4 separate regions of the Homo sapiens genome follow, and all the other regions are linked to region 2. The links are contacts of gene promoters, found by promoter capture Hi-C in blood cells and fetal thymus (Javierre and others, 2016). All regions are on one chromosome and are shown on one strand. The core of a region is centred on a gene start or on the middle of the fragment in contact, and the rest is flanking DNA. Distances in the headings are between cores, read along the strand shown.

What was found. Contacts are between HindIII fragments. The CHiCAGO score rates a contact against its expected background, and 5 or more counts as called.
Region 1: a contact is called between the fragment with the promoter of OR6X1 here and a fragment that was not itself captured in region 2, in 1 of 17 cell types (endothelial precursors). The highest score is 7.0, in endothelial precursors.
Region 3: a contact is called between the fragment with the promoter of OR8D2 here and a fragment that was not itself captured in region 2, in 1 of 17 cell types (erythroblasts). The highest score is 6.6, in erythroblasts.
Region 4: the fragment with the promoter of OR8B12 here is called in contact with a fragment that was not itself captured in region 2 in 4 of 17 cell types (total B cells, erythroblasts, naive B cells and 1 more); the score reaches 9.5 in total B cells.

The regions. Positions count from the first base shown.
Region 1 is chr11:123,752,244-123,757,529 of GRCh38, reverse strand. It overlaps OR6X1 (olfactory receptor family 6 subfamily X member 1), which reads left to right and starts at 3,012. Exons shown (of 1, transcript NM_001005188.1): 1 at 3,012-3,950. The coding sequence starts at 3,012. The coding sequence ends at 3,950. The HindIII fragment of the contact is 3,762 bases long and covers 1,945-5,286 here.
Region 2 is chr11:124,050,238-124,056,209 of GRCh38, reverse strand. It overlaps the pseudogene OR10D5P. Among named protein-coding and RNA genes, the nearest start is that of OR10G7, 12 kb to the right of the region's middle. The HindIII fragment of the contact is 2,119 bases long and covers 479-2,597 here.
Region 3 is chr11:124,316,514-124,322,401 of GRCh38, reverse strand. OR8D2 (olfactory receptor family 8 subfamily D member 2) reads left to right here and starts at 2,205. Exons shown (of 1, transcript NM_001002918.1): 1 at 2,205-3,140. The coding sequence starts at 2,205. The coding sequence ends at 3,140. It overlaps LOC112268069 (a long non-coding RNA gene), which reads right to left. Exons shown (of 3, transcript XR_002957213.2): 2 at 3,996-4,076. The HindIII fragment of the contact is 6,670 bases long and covers 1-5,805 here.
Region 4 is chr11:124,540,283-124,546,296 of GRCh38, reverse strand. OR8B12 (olfactory receptor family 8 subfamily B member 12) reads left to right here and starts at 2,643. Exons shown (of 1, transcript NM_001005195.1): 1 at 2,643-3,575. The coding sequence starts at 2,643. The coding sequence ends at 3,575. The HindIII fragment of the contact is 5,500 bases long and covers 1,676-6,014 here.

The sequences.
Region 1 (5,286 bases), core at 1,763-4,262, 300 kb after region 2:
CCTGAGTAATTCAGTAAGTGTGGAGCATAGAAGAAGGCAGAAGGAAAAATGGCAAATGGCAGAAAATCATGCTGGAAAGGTAGGTAAGACCAGATCATCGGTGGTCTTAAATGTCATGCTGAGGAGTCTGGGATGTTAACTTCAAGATTCTGAGGAGTGGCGTAGTCAGAATTCGAATGGTCCCCCTTGCTACAGTTTGAACCATCGGTAGGAAAGAGCACAGCAAGTCAGGAGACAGGGAGTCCTGTTAGGAGGCTGTGTTCGAATCCTGATGGGAGATGACAGCATGATTTACCGGAGCCAGGGAGAGACGGAAAGGACACACACTAGAGAGTGAGTAAGAAGTAAAGTTAACAGGATCTGGTGACTTGGACCCTGGTGGATATGGAGGAATCCATTTGACCCTATACATTGTGACTTTTTAAAAGGAAGAAGAAGTCTAGAGTGTAGGATTGAATTGTAATAGGCATATAGACTGCAGTGTTTAATCCAGCATCTTAGCTCTATAACTTTAGGTTCCTTGGGTTGCTTTCCTGTGTTTCTCTGAACATTGCTTTTACCTGCTAACTTGAGACATCCCCACCTCCCTCTGCATCTCACAAAACTTCTCATGTGCTCAAAACCCAGTCCGTGCAGCTGTCAGGACAGCTACTGCCTGATTCCTCATTTCTGCCACTTCTACTTGCTCAGCATTCCTTCTGCTGTGGACCAGCCCCCTCAGCAGGCACTGCCACTTCTGCTGGTATCATTTCTGCTGCCACTGCTGCTGCTACTCCTGGGCCCTCATGCTACCAAACCAAGCCATGTTCCTGACAAAAGCAGAGAGAGTATGTCTGTCCCCTGTATGTGTCCCACATGGTCACCTGGATACCACGGCAGTACTGTCTGTGACCAGAATCTCAAAAGAGGTCATTCACATACCACCTGCAGCCCCTTCCTCCATGAAGCTTAGATCCACATGTACATGTGTTACAGAGAATGGCTGACACCATACTTCACACACACACACACACACACACACACACACACACACTTGCAAACTCCGTGACTCAAGATTCTGTCCTCCAAAAGCTTCATGAATCTCTCGTGTAAACTGTTCTAACTGTTAATTTACCATAAGTGCCAGGACAAGCCTGACTCCCAGCTCCAGCTCAAGTGAAATTCTCTGCTCTGGTTCTATTTCACAAAAACTGAATCCTTGTCTGGAATGCATTCCCCCTCTCTCCTTACTTCACTTTCATTTCCTTTTGAACTCTAGGACTCAGCTTAGGCCTCTCCTTCTTTAGAAAAACTTCCTTAACCCCTGCTAAAGATGGGCGAAGAGCCCCTTCTAAGTGTTTCTAAAACAATCTGTGCACAGCTCTACACTTTCCCTCACTGAGTCATGTTGCAATTATTATACTATATATAGTATCCACCTATCTATCTATCTATCTATCTATCTATCTATCTATCTATCTATCTATCTATCTATCCACCTATCTATCTATCTATCTGATAAGCTCTTTAATTGCCTGGCAGTACTTGAAGCATAGTAAGCTCTCAACAAATGCTTGTGGAATTCATAGGTCTAATTCTCCAAATGGTAGAATGTGTAGCCCTTGGAAATGTTATATTGAGCTATAGAGATTGCCACTCTTCTCTGCATGGGGAATGAAGATAATTCCATATCTATCCTATATAAAGAGATCACGTTCGTGGCCAGTTATATTGGCCATTAGTGCAAATTCAAATACTTCTCTGTCTCTCATCGTTTTGTGGAAAGGCACTAGAGCTTGTGACATTGTAGACAAAGAATCTTTTCCTGGTCTAGAAAAGAGGTGGGAGAAAATGGAAGTGTTTTTCTTCCCTAAGCAAGCCCTCAGAGAATTACAGTTATCTCACATGAGGGAAGAATGAAACAACCTATCAATGACCTGTAAGTTGCCTCTTTCATGCTAAGCTTCTTATGTACTTTGAAAAATGTGAAATTCATTTCACAGTAATTTGTCTCACCCATTTCAAAGGAAACCCACATGGAAGAATAGCCTCAATAAGAAAGGAAGTAGTTTTACTATTTTCTACTGAATTTTGGTAGAACAGAAAGGATGTTCTCAGCCCATGAATTTGCATATACAAATAGAAATACTTTACTTGGTATAAAAAGACATTTAGTCACAAAAAAAATTTTGACAAAAATGTACTTTTCAGAGTTCCCATTTTGTTATCCTTAGCATTTGCTAACCTTTCACTTTTGTAGATTAGTGTCTGCAGATCTTTATCCCATGTACATTTATTAGGTGCTTCCATATAACAGGCTTTGACTCAGCTTGTTCTGAAATTTTGAATTTGAGTTGAATATTTCTCTACTTCCTAAACAGTTTTATTCATTTAGTTTTAAATGTTATTTTTGATACCTTTAGCAAAGGAGTCTGAACTAGAATGTGGAAGTGGATTCTTCAGAAAAACACCTCTTCTGTTATCTAACTTTATCTCACCACTAATATAATAGCAATGATTTGGGGTTATTTTAAGACACACACTCACACCCACACACAATAATGGCTTCCTTAAACGTATCTGTAATGTAATCAGTAACTTCTTTTTCAGACTCTGAGAATAGGGATTAATTTCTTATGAACTCACAGCCACGTTTACGTACATAAGTTGGTATACACACTATGCATTGAAAATAGTTATATGAATAATTGACAAGAAGCAACCACATTTCACATGATTATTCTCATAGTTGTATAAGGGTGAAAAAACACTTTGCATTCATCAAGTGTTTTTAATACATTCAAAGTCCATTAGAAGCTGGTTTTGCTGACAAAAGAACCAGCCAAATCATCAGTAAAGAAGGGGTGGCCAGTGCGTATTTGTATGTGGGTGAGGGAGGACCTGAAATAGAGTCAGGTCCCGAAGGACCTTACATAGTCAGAATCCTCCTTATTTTTTGTCCCAACTATAATCAACTGTGCTCTAAGATTCTAAGGAGCTTTCTTGCTTGTCTTTCTAGGGTATCAAGGGACATGAGAAATGGCACAGTAATCACAGAATTCATCCTGCTAGGCTTTCCTGTTATCCAAGGCCTACAAACACCTCTCTTTATTGCAATCTTTCTCACCTACATATTAACCCTTGCAGGCAATGGGCTTATTATTGCCACTGTGTGGGCTGAGCCCAGGCTACAAATTCCAATGTACTTCTTCCTTTGTAACTTGTCTTTCTTAGAAATCTGGTACACCACCACAGTCATCCCCAAACTGCTAGGAACCTTTGTAGTGGCAAGAACAGTAATCTGCATGTCCTGCTGCCTGCTGCAGGCCTTCTTCCACTTCTTCGTGGGCACCACCGAGTTCTTGATCCTCACTATCATGTCTTTTGACCGCTACCTCACCATCTGCAATCCCCTTCACCACCCCACCATCATGACCAGCAAACTCTGCCTGCAGCTGGCCCTGAGCTCCTGGGTGGTGGGCTTCACCATTGTCTTTTGTCAGACGATGCTGCTCATCCAGTTGCCATTCTGTGGCAATAATGTTATCAGTCATTTCTACTGTGATGTTGGGCCCAGTTTGAAAGCCGCCTGCATAGACACCAGCATTTTGGAACTCCTGGGCGTCATAGCAACCATCCTTGTGATCCCAGGGTCACTTCTCTTTAATATGATTTCTTATATCTACATTCTGTCCGCAATCCTACGAATTCCTTCAGCCACTGGCCACCAAAAGACTTTCTCTACCTGTGCCTCGCACCTGACAGTTGTCTCCCTGCTCTACGGGGCTGTTCTGTTCATGTACCTAAGACCCACAGCACACTCCTCCTTTAAGATTAATAAGGTGGTGTCTGTGCTAAATACTATCCTCACCCCCCTTCTGAATCCCTTTATTTATACTATTAGAAACAAGGAGGTGAAGGGAGCCTTAAGAAAGGCAATGACTTGCCCAAAGACTGGTCATGCAAAGTAAAACATGCAACACATCAAAGTGAGCTTAATGCAGATAAAAACAATGAAAGTTGAGAGAGGATTTTGGAGAAGTTTGGTAAAACAGGCTCCCCCCAAATCCCAGAAGTTCTGATTCAATGCTATAGTAAGATAAAGATGCAAAAGCAAACCATGATGGTTAAGGTCTCCCATGAGAACTTGTTACATGTAAATGAACTAGGAGTTTTTCTTGAGAAGAAACAATGTAATTCTTCAACAAGGAAGTCCCAGTATATCCTCAGATGCATGAAGTAGAACTCTGGACTTGTCAACTGCAAACTGAAAGTAGAAACCACTAAGGTCAGAGACAAATGTCAACAACTTTAAAAATGTATAAGGAATCCTGTCTCCCTCTTTATTTATGACCACCATCTTTTTTTTTATGACCACCCTCTTTGCCTCATCTTCTTGTCAAAAACATAAAACATTCCACATCTCATTTTCTTAGTTCCTATCATCTTTATCATGAGAGAAGCACGCTACAGACTTCTAATAATTCTAATGGTCCTTCCAAAATATTTGAAATGAATCAGCTTTTTGTTTGATAATATCTCAATAAGGGGACTTCCATCTTGAAATAATACAAATTTTTAGATAAACTTAGAGGTGTTCATCCTCAGATAATACCAAAACTTGAGAACATCTTGTAAAAAATTTCCATTTGCAGTTCATGGATTACAGCAGTTTCTGGGCTCCAATATAAGTAGACCATGTACCTAGGAAGCTAGGAAAAGTCTCAGAGCCAATATATCTAGAAACACTTTCCTACTGGAAAATGCAGCCCCAAGGTTACATGAAGTTCAGGGCTCACATGTAGGATTGTCACCAAAACCCCCAGGGTTCAGTCAGGTCCTGGTGTTTGCTGCACAGAACATCAATCACTGAGTCACTGAGCATTGCCAGGGAAGAAGGCTTTAACTGAATGCTGCAGCCAAGAAAAATGGGAGGTAGAGTCTCAAATCCATCTCCCCAACCAACTAAATTTGGGAGGTTTATATATAGTGGAAGGGAGGGAGAATAGGAGTTAGAGAGGGGTAAGGAAGAAGAGCTGGTAAGGTGAGAAAATAGGAATTAGGGAGGGGTAAGGAAGCCATCATGATGAATGAGGGGCCTGGCATCTTGTTGTCCGGATTGGTGATCTAGTGGGTTTCAGTCTCTTGCCTGAGGGTCAGTTTCCTGAGGAAGGAACTCAGTTAAGACAAATGTAAGTTTCAGGTTTTAAGACAGAGTGTCAATTTCTGTGTTCATTTAAAAATCCATAAATATCTTTTGTGTGGAACAATTGGGCTGGTTTCAGGGTTAGTGTGCAAAGTCCCTCA
Region 2 (5,972 bases), core at 289-2,788:
ACCATACCCAGCCAGATAATTTCTTGGTATCAGACTCAGACATATGTCATCCATCAAAATATAGACTCAAAAAAAGTTATAGAAATCAATGGAGCAAATTTAATGTACTAGATTTGCTGGCAAATTGAAGAATATTCTGTGTAAACCGAAAAGAAGCTCCTGAGAGAAGTATTTATGTTACCATTTAGACACTACAGAAGCAGCATTAGCACATGGTTAAGACGCTTTGGGTCACATTTTCGCCCAGCAAGTTTTTAACTCCATGACACTGCAGAAAGATCTCAGCCTCTCAGTGCCTTAATTTTCCCTCGTAAATCGAGATAATAGTATTATCTACTTCATATGATTATTATAATCATTACATGTATCAGTATTTGTAAATAGCGCCTGGTACTCAGTCATCAAACAAAATATAGGAGCTAATTGCCCCCAGATAAATTCAAGACAAAGCTGTAAAGACAGACCAGGATATAAAGCTTACCTTCCACAATTATGTACTCCTTGAATGAGCACCTTTCTCAGTGCCAGCTTTACACCTTTGTTTCTCAAAGTATATATCAAAGGATTCAGGGAAGGGATAACAATATTATTCAACACCTGAACCACAGAGTCCAGCCAAGGGCTGGAGGCAGGTCGGAGATAAATGAGGACTATTGGTCCATAGAAGAGCAGGATGGACGTCAGATGGGCACTGCAGGTTGAGAAGGCTCTGCGCCTACCTTCTGAGGAACTGATTTTCAGTATAGAGATAACAATGCAAGCATAAGAGGTGAGGATAAGAAGAAAACACATGAGCGCAACAACACCTACGTTGATGAAACTCACTGTCCGTGCTAGAGAGGTGTCTGCGCAGGCCAGGGGCAGCACCACCGGAATATCACAGAAAAAAATTGTCCACTTCATTGGGGCCACAGTAGGATAACTTAAAGATGAGGAGTGTGAGGACAGATGCATGCAGACAGCTCCCCGTCCAGGTGCCTAGCGTCAGGAGGGCACACACCCTGCGTTTCATGATGACCGTGTATGGCAAAGGGTGGCAGATGGCTGCAAATCGGTCATAGGCCATCACAGTGTACAGGAAACACTCGGTGCAACCCAGGAAATGGTGAAAGAAGAGCTGGGAGGCACAACCCTGGAAAGAGATGGTGCAGCTTTGTCCCACTAAGCAGAGCATCATTTTGGGGGAACTCACTGAAGGGAAAAATATGTCAAACACAGACAGGTTTCCCAGGAAGAAATACATGGGGGTGTGGAGGTTGGAGAAAGTGAGGACGGCCAGAAGAATGAGTAGGTTCCCCAGCAAGGTGAAGAGGTAGAAGGCCAGAAATAAGACAAAAAGCACATTTTCCATCCCCTTTGTATGAGGGATTCCCATCAGGGGGACCTCAGTTACTGGAGTGTGATTCTTTATCTTCATGTCAAATTAGTCCTGGAACATCAAACAATGGCCTCACTGAGATGAGTTTTTCCTGCAAAAAACTCTTTATAGAGCCTATCGCAAACTGATAATAAGTATATAGAGTGGAGAACTTCTAAATAAGACTCAGTTCAATCCTGTCATTAATTATTGAGTGACATTTGGGTAAGTTATTAATCTATTTTTCATCTGTTTCCTCATAAGTAAAATGAAGAGACAACACTAGAGTTGATATAGAAGAGAAGGTGTAGAATAAACTTTACAACTGGAAGTATCTGAGTTTACATACTAAACACGCTGCCCACTCTGACATCAGATGACCTTGAAAAAAACTCTTTAAATCTTTTCTGAATATATATAAATAGTAAAATAATATATTATGGTTCCTGTGTACATTAATGCATTGATGTCTGCAAAGTACCCATATAATTTTGGCTCCTACCCATCTTTGTTAAAAAATTTATTCATCAAATTATTTAATGTGTGCCTTATTCCACAGCATTTCTCTAAGTTGACTTGTAGCAGTTCTGAGATTACCCATTCATGTGACTGATCCGGGAGGCAGCTTTCTCAATCAGCAGCTAGAGTAACTGAAAACTGAGAATTGTCTAATGGGTGTAAAACAGAAAGGAAGCCTGGGCATGGCGGCTCACACCTGTAATCCCAGCAGCTTGGGAGGCCAAGGTGGCAGGATCACTTGAGCCCAGGGATTTGAGACTAGCCTAGGCAATACAGTGACGCCTTGTCTCTTCAAAAATTTAAAAAAAAAGGAAAAGAAAAAGAAAAAACTAGCTGAGTGTGGTGGTGTATGTCTGTAGTCCCAGCTACTTGGGAGGCTGAGGTGGGGAGATCCTTTAAGCTGAAAAGGCAGAGATTGCAGTGAGCCAAAATCATGCCACTGCACTCCAGCCTGGGTGACAGAGTGAGACCCTGTCCCAAAAATAACTTAAATAAAAATAAAGAAATAAAAGAATAGAAAAGATGATATGTAGGTAGGAAAAAGCAATAGATAATTACTGATATTAAAAACAGCCATTTCTTTTAATAGAGTTTAGTGTCCAATAGCAATTATATCTGTGACTTGACTGCAAATAATCATCATTTTTCCTAGAATTAGCTTTATAATTCCCCATTATCACTTTACATCTTATTCATTTCCTAAAATTTCTAAGGTTAAGCTTCATTAATCAGGTAATAGCTCAATAAAATACCATGGAGTCAACTAAGTCAGATTTAGCCCAAAGTCAAACAGAGCCAATTCCCACGTTCTTCCCACCTTCCTCTAGTGCGTAGAACTCATCAGAAGATGAGAGGGGAGCACTCCAGAGAAAAGGCACTCACAGACTGAAGGGAAATGTGGCTGTCCTGGGCTGAAAACCAGGCCCTACGTCCACCCAGCCCTGTTTCCTTTGCTTTTAGGTGCTGTGGATCATCTGTGGCTCTGGGGCTAGAAAAGCCGAATGTTCCTCTTTTTCAGACTCAGCCACCCAGGCCAGAAAATCTCAGTGCCCCTGGCCCCTGAATGAAGTAGCAGCAATCAAGCCCTCAAGAGTGAATAAAAGTCTTCAGTTCCTTTGGGACCCTCTTCCCTAATGGGCACTAAGGAAGTGTGGAACCAAGGAAGCAATTAGACTGGAGGCGTTCCTCTCTTCCCTTCTCTTTCTCCCCACTGCATCTACCTCATTAATTCTTAGACTGAAATGCAATTATACAGTGGTATTTAGTTATATTCAGTTTAAAGCTCTTTAATTAACAATAATTCTTGGGCTGTTTTTCCTCTAGGAGCGAGCCATCCATGAAGTTCAGATGTTTGAGATTGCCCAGTGATCCTTTACCTGGAGAATCTGGGTTTGAAGAAAGAGCCAGAAATTAGGAAAGCAACCACTTAAACAGGCAACAATCCCATCTGATGCTAAAAACAAAACAAAACACAGCTGCACCTGTTTTTTTCTACAATTTGCTTTATAATCCCCCATTATCACTTCCACAACTGATTGAATTCATATTTTATTCATTTTATTTTTTTAGTCTCCTCTTAAAAAAAAAACAGGATACATGTGCAGAATGTGCAGGTTTGTTCCATAGGTATACGTGCCATGGTGGTTTGCTGCACCTATTGACCCGTCCTCTAAGTTCCCTCCCCTCACCCCCACCCCGTAACAGGCCCTGGTGTGTGTTGTTCCCCTCTGTGTCCATGTGTTTTCAATGTTCAACTCTCACTTATGAGTGAGAACATGCACATTTTCTCTTTATTTTCCTTTAAGACTGCTACTGACATTAATTTTAGCATACATTAATTACTGTAACTTGGTTGGATGTATATTTTAAGAATTCAGTCTGCTGACTGCTGTGTAGAGGATGGATCAGAGTGGACAAGGGTAGATTAAGTACATCTGTGAGCATGTTATTTTTACTGGCTAACAAACAAAAAGCAAATGGGTTTATTAAAAATGTTATGACTAAAATCCCTTTGAGAAAATATAGAAGGCACAGAAATTACAACTATACTGTTGTATAAGTAAGTTTATCAGCATTTTTATAATTATTGTGCTTCTTTATGCCAGAAAAAGTACAGAAGAGACTGCCACCTCCATGTTTTAAAACAGTAATGACTGCTTACTGAGAATCTTTCTTTTTTAAAAACCAGACTGCCCAAGGCCCCTTTGTTTTATTCTTGCATTGGCCCCATTAGTTAAATTTTCTTTTAAAGACAAAAATAGGGCTCAAATAGTTAAAACAGTTGCCAAAGTTGACTCCAAAAGTCAATCATAGAGCTTGGATTTGAGTTTTAGTCTGACTGCATTTAACATTTATGCCCAATTCTAACAAAATAGAATAAATATTTTGAATACGAATTTAAAAAGTAAACATGCAGAGTCTCTCATTCCTACCCATTTTCTTGTTCTTTAGTTTTGTGTTAGATCAACATAAAATCTTAAATTTTTCTAACTAGTGATAATTTCTATGTGTTTAAAAGCTTTATTGAGAAGTAATGTATATGTCATAAAAGTTCACCCATTTTAAATGTACAATTCAGTAAATACATATTTGCAAAGAATATATATTTACGGAGTTTTCAGCTATCACCACAGCCTAGTTGTAGAATTTTTCCCTCACACTAAAAAGACGCCTCACGATCATTATAGTTATTCTCATTCCTATCCCCAACACTAGGCCCCCACAAATCTACTTTCTTTCTTTATATATTTGCCATTTGGGGACATTTCTTTTAAGTGGAATTATAAAATATGTGTTCATTTTGACCTGACATCTCTCAGGAAACATAATGTTTTTAAAAGGTATCTCTGTTTTTGCATGTACCAATATTTTGTTCCTTTATAACGACAAATAGTTTTCCATTGTATGGATATTTACATCTCTTGGACCATAGGCTAAGATTCTAAGTTTATTCCTAGTGCATATAAGCCCTTAAAAGATTATTGGTTTAAACATAGAAATGCTTTGAAGATATCAAGATCATGATCATCATCTAGTCAAAAGTGAATTATTTTGGATTGTATCACATATTAAACAGTTCAGCATGTGAATTGTGGAAAAAATATATATGACTTTGATTATCAGTTTCAGCTTGTCATTTCAATTTCTTTCTTCTGTATTACTATAAAAAAACATCATAGAATTGGTGAAAATCAGCCCAGCACTGAGATAAGTTTTAGTTACTGATGTGCCCCAATCTTCCTTTTTTCAACTGCCTTTATTATAAGTTGAGTATTTCATATTGCATGTAAGTAATTCCAGAATTACTTCTTCAAGTGGCTTATACATCTCATAATTACTATCCCTATGACTCATTAACACACACACACACACACACAGAGACAGAGAGAGAGAAGATACAAGCAATAATGAGCCCCTAGAAATATCATCTCATTTCAGCTTCCCAGAACTGCTGTTCTTGGCAAAACCTCAAGAGTCACTAAAGTAACAAGTGACACAAACCTCGAAATTTTATTATTCTTTATATTTAAAGTGTTGTCTCTAAACCTTTCAAGTCATTTATCCATTTAATCTGCTGCAGAAATTTAGTAGTTGTCAACCAGCCAGATTAAATCAGGGATATTGGTTCTCAAAAGACTTACATATAAATTGCATATGTTATTTTACATGATATATGTAGAATGCCAATATGTAAATTTACAAAGAGAAATAAAAAGCCATATTCATTAGAATACATGCATTGATGGGTTGGCATATTCTTTTCCAAATAGGAAAATTGTAGATTCAAAGCAAAATACTTGGCCGGACCCAGTGGCTCACGCCTGTAATCCCAGCACTTTGGGAGGCCAAGGTGGGTGGATTACCTGAGGTCAGGAGTTCAAGAACAGCCTGGCCAATGTAGTGAAACCCCGTATCTACTAAAAATACAAAAATTAGCCAGGCATAGGTGGGTGGTATGTGCCTATAGTCCCAGCTACTCAGGAGGCTGAGGCAGGAGAATCACTCAAACCCGGGAGGCAGAGGTTGCAGTGAGCCAAGATAGTGCCACTGCACTCCAGCCTGGGCGACAGAGCGAGATTCTGTCTGGAAGAAATAA
Region 3 (5,888 bases), core at 956-3,455, 270 kb before region 2:
TTTACCACACCAGATGATAAATGTAGTCATTACTCTTGATGTCTGTGGGAGAAGAAAGTATAAATACAATCTCATGGTATAAATTTGTAGAGGGAGAGCATCAGGACAAACAGCTAATGCATTTGGGGCTTAAAACCTAATGCATTTGGGGTGCAGCAAACCACCATGGCACATGCATACCTATGTAGCAAACCTGCACGTTCTGCACATGTACACCAGAATTTAAAGTAAAAAAAGTAGTATGTTATATATCATTATGCTTAGCTTAATGAGTAATAAAGAGGGTAAAGTTCTCATTCCATAGCACGTAATTTTAAATTCTTAACCTTTCTACTTTATTGAGATAGTCTTTTCTAAAAGAAATACTCTAGGCATTATTTGTGATAGTTCTGTGATGAAAATAATTTGGGAATATATCAATATAGAAATGTTACGGATATAGGAAAGAATGTGCTTCAATCACTAGACCTATTATTAAGCAGCCTCCCTTGGGTGGCAATGCGGCTGTTAGGCAGGATTCATATCCAACACAGGGTCCATGCATGCACATCAGCCAATAGTAAGGGAGGGTTCCACAAGCCTGGCATGGGAACTAGGCAGGGAAGAGAAGGGGACTTAAGGCAGAAGCAGGAACCTGGACAAAGGAAAAGGCAGAGGCTCACGACAGAGGTGGGAACTTCAAGAAAGTGTCGGACATCATCTCAAAAACCCAGTGCAGAACTCTCAAGCTGCTGCTGGCTCACTCCCCTTCAGCAGCCAGCTCTGTCTCACCTTTCCAGAGTGTACTGTCTCTCTCTAAATAAGCTCTCTGCTATTTTTCTTCAACAAATTCTCTTTTTGGCTAATTCAGTCATTTGGTAGAATATTTTTCCAAGTAAGGCTAAAAATCTAGAATTCCTGAACTTCCCGTAACAGGGCTTGTTAGAGTTGCATTCTGGTAACTCTGATTCTCTTTCTCTTAGAGTATTCTCTAATTCCCCTAATTCAGAAACATGGCTGTCTTCTCAAGTGCTCTTGGAGATAACACCCCACCTGTCAGCTTTTAAATCGATATACATATTGAGTACCCTTAAAACACTGTAGAAGCAAATTTTTATAAATTTTTGTTTGTGATCATAAAAATATGTTTTTATGCAAAATAAAAGCAAACAACATCTCACTCTATGTATGGAGTTTTTCCTCCCTTGACATTTTTTCTCACTTTGGAAAAAAATTATGAAACCTGATGTCTTAGGTAATATACAGTGTTTCAGCTGAAAGCAACACACCCTGAATCCTTTGCTTAAACTTTAGGGGAAACGAAGTCAGGGAATAAGAAATCTCCAGTTCAGATCTCACAGCTTTGAAAGAGAAAGGTCAGTGAGAGTTTGGCCATGAATAATGGATAGCAGGAAAGGGCCAAGGAGGGAAGCGCTGAGTTGCTGATGGTTCAGGTCTTACACCTGAAAGTCAGCCTTACTTCTTTGCTTCTTTGCTGTTTCTGGAACAGGAAAGATCTAAACTAGAATCTCAGGATAGCCCTTGGCACAACATTTCTGTCAACCACATCCACACTGAGTACAAGAATCTCCTGGCCCACTCAAGTTTTCCATTCAAAGAACAGAAGTGAGCTAATGAGGGTCAGAATTGATTAGAACCATTTCCATACTTTTTTTTTTTGTACTAAGGTCTCTTTATAGACGTCTTTTATGTTTCTTATTTCCTAGTTTTAGCAAATGCTAATTATGTTGATTCATGTTGATGGGTAAGGAAACTGAAATGGACTACTTTTATATCATCAGAGCTGGATTAGAAGCCATGTTGTAACAAAGTCTGAAGGTTCTATTGGCATATGCTCAGATAAAGAAGGTAAGCAGTGTTGTTTTAATGGTAGCAATGACAAACTAATTAGATTTGGAAAGTTTGTGCTTCCTCCAGCAGTGAGGTAATTATGGGCATAAGCCTGGAAACAAAATGGGAGGACTCTTACTAAAAGAGGAGCATTCAACAGGGTTTTGGGTGAAATCAAGGTTCTTGGTTATACTCATAATATTTGCCCTTGATCTTGTAAGAGGTCCCTGAAAAGAGGCAATCATGGGACAGATGAGGCTCTCAGGAATGGAAGCAACCAACATGGGGCATGTCATTCTGCTTTGGGAATCAGAAAATAAATCTAATGTCTCTCTTTTCTCTTATTTCTTATTACACATAATACCTTAAAAGACATGGCTACTTCAAACCATTCTTCAGGGGCTGAGTTTATCCTGGCAGGCTTGACACAACGCCCAGAACTTCAACTGCCACTCTTCCTCCTGTTCCTTGGAATATATGTGGTCACAGTGGTGGGGAACCTGGGCATGATCTTCTTAATTGCTCTCAGTTCTCAACTTTACCCTCCAGTGTATTATTTTCTCAGTCATTTGTCTTTCATTGATCTCTGCTACTCCTCTGTCATTACCCCTAAGATGCTGGTGAACTTTGTTCCAGAGGAGAACATTATCTCCTTTCTGGAATGCATTACTCAACTTTATTTCTTCCTTATTTTTGTAATTGCAGAAGGCTACCTTCTGACAGCCATGGAATATGACCGTTATGTTGCTATCTGTCGCCCACTGCTTTACAATATTGTCATGTCCCACAGGGTCTGTTCCATAATGATGGCTGTGGTATACTCACTGGGTTTTCTGTGGGCCACAGTCCATACTACCCGCATGTCAGTGTTGTCATTCTGTAGGTCTCATACGGTCAGTCATTATTTTTGTGATATTCTCCCCTTATTGACTCTGTCTTGCTCCAGCACCCACATCAATGAGATTCTGCTGTTCATTATTGGAGGAGTTAATACCTTAGCAACTACACTGGCGGTCCTTATCTCTTATGCTTTCATTTTCTCTAGTATCCTTGGTATTCATTCCACTGAGGGGCAATCCAAAGCCTTTGGCACTTGTAGCTCCCATCTCTTGGCTGTGGGCATCTTTTTTGGGTCTATAACATTCATGTATTTCAAGCCCCCTTCCAGCACTACTATGGAAAAAGAGAAGGTGTCTTCTGTGTTCTACATCACAATAATCCCCATGCTGAATCCTCTAATCTATAGCCTGAGGAACAAGGATGTGAAAAATGCACTGAAGAAGATGACTAGGGGAAGGCAGTCATCCTGACAAAGAGGGTTCTCATTGGCAGCCAGAAAAAATAAACCATATAAAAAGTTGTTATAGGATCTTTGTAAGTTTCTGTCTCTCTCGGAGAGAGAAAAATTATCATCACTTAAAAATGTATATTTTATATTAGAGAATGATTAAGACATTTTTGGAGATTATGAAACAAAATTTTCTGATGGTCAATATAATCTTCGAAAATGTATTAGAGAAATGGGAGATGACAGAAGAGGAAGGGCAAATAAACATTAAAAACAATTTATTGAACATATTACTTTTGAAAGCCCAGGCTGGTCTTGAACTTCTGGCCTCAAGTAATCCTCCAAACTTGGCCTCCCAATGTGCTGGAATTAGAAGCCTGAGTCACGATCCTCAGCCTTGAAATAGTTGATTTAATGGATGACAGAGCATGATTCACAAAGACTTTTAAAGGCTGGAGTGATAGTCGCATTTAATGAGATTTTAAAAATGTACATGGGTAATATAAGATTCTATACTTCTATAAAAATGGAGAGAGTGGGAAAAACTTTATTTAACTCCAGAGAATTAAGGATTTTTGACAATATAAGTAAAAAGCATAACTACCTAGAAAGTTACTGTTACCTTGTCTGCATTAGCTACATTTTAGTATTTAGAATGAGGAACATTCTAGTTATCACTTGCACAACAGCAATTAGACTGTGTCCACTTGAAAGTAATTTACTTTGTTGATATTACTATTTAAGAGGCCACTGGCATTCTGAAATATATTCTGAGACGCATGGCCATGATGAAGCAACTTGAAATCACACATTCATTGATTTGTTTATTCTTTGGGTCATTCATTTAAGGAATACTCATTGAATGCCCACTACATACCTGTCACTATTCCTCATACTGGTGATAAAGAGATGAACAAAAGTCACAAACTCCTTGCCTTCATTAGATTTAGGTTTTAGCCTGAAAGAAAGGCAATAAACAGGGAGAAAAATACATCATAGAATCTCAGATCATAAAATGTCTTAGAAAATAAAGCCAAGAGGATAGAAATTGCTCACAGATATTAGAGGATAATTAAGTTACACATAGGAGTTACACACAGAAGGGCTGTAGGCTAGTTATTGAGGTTTTAGTAGTTCTTGCCACAGAGCACAAGTAGGCTAAAGAAGACTCTTCCAAAAATCAGAACTATCAAAAAATAATTAGCTATCTTGGGAATTTATGAACTATCCAGCAGTAGGGATTTAAGTACATATTCCAGACAGAATATTCAACCATTCTGTCTGGAATATTTCTGAGAAGAATCAAATGCTGGCTAAGAATATGACCAAACTGATCCCTTTGTTCATTGCTAACACTGAGGTTTTATGATCCATTCATTTCATCACCTTCTGATACTTTCTATTCCATCTCTTTTTATCCTTTCCACTATCTGAACATGCCTACTCCCCCTTTCCTATAATCTCTTTTATTCCCTTTCTCTTTTTCTTCCACTTTACAAGTTCCCATAAATCAGAACTAATTGTTTGGAAGTCCTAACTAGAGCAATCAGACAAGAGAAAGAAAGGGCATCCAAATTAGAAAGGAAGAAGTCAAGTTATCGTTGCTTGCAGATGACATGATCTTATGTTTAGAAAAGCCTAAAGATGCCACCAAAAAAAACTATTAGAACTGATTTGGAAAAGTTCAAATTCAATTTGAACTTTTTTTCTGGACTTTTTGAACTTTTCAGAGAAGTTCAAATTGTTCAGAAAAGTTTAAATTCATTTTGTACTACTGAACAAACTCAGTAAAGTTGCAAGATATAAAGTTGACATACAAAATCAGTAGCATTTCTACATGCCAACAGTGAGCAATCTGAAAAAGAAATTTAAGAAGTAATCCTATTTACAATACCTACAACTCAAATAAAATACCTAGAAATTAACCAAAGAAGTGAAATATCTCTACAATGAAAATTATAAAACATCGATGAAAGAAAGAGAACACACACACACACACACACACACACACACACACACACACACAAATAAAAAGTTATTCCAAGTTCACGGACTGGAAAAATCAATATTGTTAAAATGTTCATACTACCCATTGCACTCAATCTACCAATTCAGTGCAATCCCTATCAAAATATCACTGGCATTTTTTCACAGAAATGAAACAACAATCCTAAAATGTATGTGGAACCACAAAAGATATAGAATAGCCAAAGCTATCCTGAGCAGAACAAAACTAGAGGAACCACATTACCTCCCAAACTGGAGGAATCAAATTATACAACAAGCTATAGTAATCAAAAGAGCATGGTACTTGTATAAAAGCAGACACAAAGACCAATGGAACAGAATAGAGAACTCAGAAACAAATCCATACATATTCTCATTTTTGACAAAAGAGCCAACATACATTGGGGAAAGGATTGTCTGTTCAATACTTGATGCTGGAAAACTGAATATCCATACGCAAAAGAATGAAACTTGACCCCTGTCTCTCACCATATACAAAAATAAAATCAAAATGGACTAAAGACTTAAATACAAGACCTTAAACTATGAAACTACTAAAAGAAAACATTGGGGAAATTCTCAGAACATTGGAGTGGGCAAATAGTTCTTGAGGGATACTCCATAAGCACAGACAACCAAAGCAAAAATGGACAAACGGGATTACATCATATTAAAAAGCTTCTGCACAGCAAAGGAAACAATCAACAAAAGTGAAGAGATAACCCACAGAATGGAAGAAAATATTTGCCAAATATCCAACTGA
Region 4 (6,014 bases), core at 1,394-3,893, 490 kb before region 2:
AGTTACCTTGTTTTTTTGCCTTTTCTCAAGAATTTCATCCCTGTGTTGTCTACTTTCCAAGTATTGCAAATAGTTGCTTTATACACTTTTTCCAGCCTTTTTTTTTCTTTCTTTTTTTTTGTGGTCAGAGGGGTAAGTGCAATAATAGCTATACCATCACACTTGAAATAAAAAGTCTCATAACTTATGTTTCCATTATTTGTGTTTTACATTCCAGCCAAAATGAAGGTCAGGTGAGTTAATGGATGAGGAGAGATTGGAAATGCGGAGACTTAGAAGAGATCTGTGACCTTGGGTGAATGGCTTTACTTCTTTGAACTTTTTAGAGGTCTTTGCCTGTAAGATGAGGGCAAATAATAGTTCTGTGAATCTATCAGTTCCTGGCATTGGAAATGCTTGGGAAGATTTTAAAAAAACACAGCCACCATATCCATATCTATGGAGATTCTGATTCCAAAGGTATGGTTGGAGCCCAGCATTTCTTTTTAATGAATATTTTAGATAATTGTGATAACCAGCTAGGTTTGGGAAACACTGGATGAGATACTCTCTCAAGTCTTTTCGGGTCTAAAATTTTATGAGTTTGTTGGTTTGATGTTAAAGAAAATAAGTAAATATCTTAGAGACAGAGACATAGGATAGACGATTTTAATCCAGGCAGAGCTTGGAGGTATGGAGTAAAAGACAGAAAAAGACAAATGCAAACCAAAGAGGAAGAACAAATGTGGATGTGTTCCTGCAGTGGGAGTCTGGTCTACTAGGACTCAGTTTGAGGGCACTGAACAGATGGAAAGTCAGTTGGGAGAAGTGCTCAAAGAAAAGTGGGTGGAAGGCAGGGACAGCCAGAGGGAATTTTGACTAGTTATTAATTTAGAGAAAGGCTGGTCTTGGTAGACATTGAGAGCAGTTACCTGATAGGGATTCTTGTTACCATTAAACATACACTCCATGAGAGGACAGGGGAGGGGAACGAGAGAAGTATGTTCTTGTCTGAGCTGGGACTAGAGTAGTGCAATTAATTCCTGAGGTGAGTGGAATATGAATAAATTATTGAATAGCCTATTCTAAATTACAATAGCCCTTTGTGTTAACCTTTCCAGGCTCTAATTGCTTCCTTTTAAAACTTAAATTCATTGAATATTTACTTGTTATTTTCCAAGAGACTGTCAGATCCAAGAAGGCAAGGGCTCTGCTTTATGGATTTCAGTAGCTGTCCTTGGGAGGTAGTTTAGTCTAGCAGCTACATAAGGGGCTTGGAGTCAGACAGACCTAAGCATACCTGTGGACTCTGAAACATCTTGTCTCTGTGAGCAACTTACCTGTAAAATAGGTATTGTGAGAAATAAATAAAGATATGTTTGTATATGTGTACTCTGGATCTTGGCAGCTGGAATAAGGGTACTATGTCAGGTACTAAATTATTGGGTATTCAAGAAATGGTAATGACAATCATTTTTTTCACAATGATTTTCTCTTAATAGTACAGGATACATGTTAGTAGAAAGCCAAATCAAGCAATTCCAAGAGATAAACAAACATTTCTTCTTCTCTAGGGAAACTAATTGCTAAGCAAGTGGTCTTGAGGGAGTCTCTATCTTAATGGCCAGATCATTGAGGTCTGTAATCCAGAATAAAACTCTTTAGTCTTTTGTTATTCACTGGTCAGGAAAAAGCTTTGTCTCCTTCCTGGAAGCTGGAGAGGCCTTTGGGCAAATGAACAATTGGAAGTCATGTCCTTCAGTGCAGGAAGTGTTATGAGATACATTAGAGGTTCTGATCCTTTGACCTGTACTGGGAAGAGAGGGCTTTGAGCTCAGATCTGTCATCTTGTCTTCACTAGGGTCATCTTCCTCCCCAGAATGTGAAAAAGAGGCAGTAGAGTATAGCATTTATGGCTCTAAAGGGAAGGAAGGTGAGTGCCTGCCCCGATGCTGGTCACTTATGTAACATGGTGATTTCAAGTGCAAGCCATTTGAGCCATACTGCCGAAATTCACCTTCTGGCTGCAGGTGGTTTGGGGACTTTTGTCTAGTTATGTCATCTTACTTGTTTCATCTGTAAAATGAAGATAATAATATTGCTACATGGCTCTTCAAACAGAACCTCTTATAGTAACCACTCAATAAGTGTCAGCTTTAAAAAATTATTAAATGTACAGCCACTTGAGCTAAGAGATCTTGGAAAAGCATGAGCTCACCTACTTAATCTGACAGTGTGGACCCAGAGGTGGAAGCTCTGAGCAGAGCCACTGTGGCTTCTGCATCTCAGGATTCCCTTCAGGGAAGAGGTCCAGGTTTTACCAAGTGAAGCAGAGACAGGAGAGGGAAAGATATAGAAAAGGGACTGACCTAAGGATCTAAAAGACATTTGGATTATTTTTGGTACCCCTTTCTTCAGCAGATCCAGCTCTCATTCTGCAGTTACAGTTGAGTCTCATATTACACTTTGGGAGTTATAATCACTCGGACTGTGAAGATAGACCCACAGTGAGTGGTAAAAACCTTCCTACCAAAGTTCAAATCTCTCTCCTTGGATTCCTTTTCTAAGAATGGGAGATAGAGACTAAGAATGTGGTGGTGATGTTTCTTTCTAAGTGGTCCTCTTCTCTTGTCCCCTCCGACTCTCCTGCCTGACCAAAAAGAATGGCAGCCAAAAACTCTTCTGTGACAGAGTTTATCCTCGAAGGCTTAACCCACCAGCCGGGACTGCGGATCCCCCTCTTCTTCCTGTTTCTGGGTTTCTACACGGTCACCGTGGTGGGGAACCTGGGCTTGATAACCCTGATTGGGCTGAACTCTCACCTGCACACTCCCATGTACTTCTTCCTTTTTAACCTCTCTTTAATAGATTTCTGTTTCTCCACTACCATCACTCCCAAAATGCTGATGAGTTTTGTCTCAAGGAAGAACATCATTTCCTTCACAGGGTGTATGACTCAGCTCTTCTTCTTCTGCTTCTTTGTCGTCTCTGAGTCCTTCATCCTGTCAGCGATGGCGTATGACCGCTACGTGGCCATCTGTAACCCACTGTTGTACACAGTCACCATGTCTTGCCAGGTGTGTTTGCTCCTTTTGTTGGGTGCCTATGGGATGGGGTTTGCTGGGGCCATGGCCCACACAGGAAGCATAATGAACCTGACCTTCTGTGCTGACAACCTTGTCAATCATTTCATGTGTGACATCCTTCCTCTCCTTGAGCTCTCCTGCAACAGCTCTTACATGAATGAGCTGGTGGTCTTTATTGTGGTGGCTGTTGACGTTGGAATGCCCATTGTCACTGTCTTTATTTCTTATGCCCTCATCCTCTCCAGCATTCTACACAACAGTTCTACAGAAGGCAGGTCCAAAGCCTTTAGTACTTGCAGTTCCCACATAATTGTAGTTTCTCTTTTCTTTGGTTCTGGTGCTTTCATGTATCTCAAACCCCTTTCCATCCTGCCCCTCGAGCAAGGGAAAGTGTCCTCCCTGTTCTATACCATAATAGTCCCCGTGTTAAACCCATTAATCTATAGCTTGAGGAACAAGGATGTCAAAGTTGCCCTGAGGAGAACTTTGGGCAGAAAAATCTTTTCTTAAGAAAGGATTAGTATTGGAGGAAGGAGATACAATGCTTTGCTTATTAGTGTGTGTTTTCAGTGAGATTCAAGTTCCATTTTTTTCCTGTCTTGTACAGAAAAAGAATTTTAAATCTTTACATTTGGATGAGTGTTAAGTGCAGACATATTCTCCCTGTCTCTGCTTCACCTAGTTATTCCAGGATTTCTTCATTTTATGCAAATTTTTCTATAATCATAGACCATTTAATCGTGAATTGGCCTTACACATTATTTAATCTAGTCTCTTCAATTAACATGTGTTGGAGACTCAGAAATACATATGTTGCTCAAGGACACACAACTACTTGGTGCCACAACTGGGAATGGAATCCAGGTCCTTGAATTCCAGGCTGCTTTTTTTTTCTTTATGTCATTTTTTCATGCTTCATTGCTGCCCTTGCAGATATCCTTTTAAAAGTAAGAAAACTTAACACATTAAAACCTAATTCTATTCATAGTAATTTAATGTGACCTCTCAATAAATAATTTTTAAATATTTCATTTTTTTTCAAGAGGATAGAAGATGAAACATTTTCTTAAGTTGGTCTTCACCAAATGAGAAGAGAATTGTGTCAAGTTTGTAGAATGTGACTGACATTGAGTTAAGATTGAGGTTGTGTGGAACCCTAGGAACCCAGTCTAGGGAATTAGGACTTCCATAGGATTAAGGGTTATAAAGATGCTGAGTAGAAATCATACATTCATTTGAAAACTTAAAGAATCAGAATGTAGAGCTTTTTCAAGGGTTAGTTTGGGTGTTTGAGCTGTGATGGAGAAATATGTGGCTTAGGATAATCAACTAAGGGTCTGGAAGTTTTCGAGGCGAAGTAAATAATGTTGAGAATCTAGTTAGTTATTAAAACAGCACTAAGCAGCTGATTATTAAAAGAGGCAATTTCCATTGAATTTTAAGGTACTGCAGACTGCACTCATATAAACATATGTGGTAAAAGATAATTCATCCAAGACTGGGTTGTAAACCCACAACATATAATGATAGTTATAGAACACGCCAGATCAATACACTTTGATCTAAATAATTTATTAGTAGCAAAGGAAGGTTCTTTGGATTAGCATTAACCATGTTAAGTGCTGGGGAGACACTTTGATTTCTGAGCTTTTCCTTGGGAATATTCTTTGGGAAAAAGGGAAGTTTAGATGAGGGTGTAGTTTTGTTCTTTGGTATGACACGAAGGGCTTGAAGTCATAAGACTGAGAGTGTGTGTGTGTGTACGTGTGTGTGTGTGTGTGGTGGGAAAGATTTTTCTTTAGTCAGCGTGGAATAGGAAAGAGAAGTGAGTTCAGGAGACTTGTGGGTGGGCGTCTGGTGGGTGAGGTGAATAGGCTATTTGAGGTAGAGAGCAGATGAAAACAGCGATTCGTGAGGCACATGATGAAGTTGGTTTTGTATCCTGGCTCAGTTGCTTAGTAATTTTGTGACTTTGGGCAAATTACTTAATGTCTCTAAATATTAATTTTTTTATTTTTGAAAGTGATGTAATGATTCTGACTTCGTGGGGTCTTTGAAGAATTAAATGCAGGGCACTTACTACATTTTAGTTATCACCCTGCAATAATTCTTTTATGTAATTATCAGCACTTCCTTGAGTTTTTCCATGAGCTGAGACAAGTCACTTCATCTTCCTGGAACTCTGCTTAGTCATGAGAAAAATGAACTCTAAGTATCATTTAAAAAGTCATATATTTTGACTAAGTAATATTTGCGTATGGTACAGCACTAAACAATATAAATGGGGGTTATACAGTGAAAATATGTCTTCCTCCTATCTTATCATTCCATTCCTAAAATCTCCTTCCTAAAAACAACAGTTGTTGCTGATTTCCTATGAATCTTCTCATATTCGAGCATATCTATCTATGTATCTTTCTATCTATGCATGTATCTGTGTATGTATGTACATATCTATCTAATTTATCTAATCTATCTGCCTATCTATTCATCCACCTATCTTGTTTTAAAGTTGTATAAAAAGGCATTTTCCAAAGGAAACAGCCTAGAAGAGGATGGGATAAGAGAACAATGCAGGGGTAAAAAGAAGAGGAGCCAATCACAGAAGAGGTCTGGGAAGGGATGCAGCTGAGGAGGGAGAGAAAGAACAGAGGCACACTTGGCCCTGGATGCATCACTGTGGACCCCAGCCCTGGAGCCACAGGGTAACATTTTGGTTCCCTGATCTTCTGTCCTCATCTCGTGGTTGCACCACTCCCATCACTATTTGGTTGATATTGTGGTGAGGTCAGAGCCTCTGATAGTTAAGAATATCAGGATGGCAAGTATTTTTAATCCGTCACAAAGTTCTATACGTGCTTATCTATTTTAACTAATGAGGCACATGGTTTTTCTTTTTCTGATTCTTGGAGCAACTCATATATTATTGTTGAAAATTTGGAATGTGAA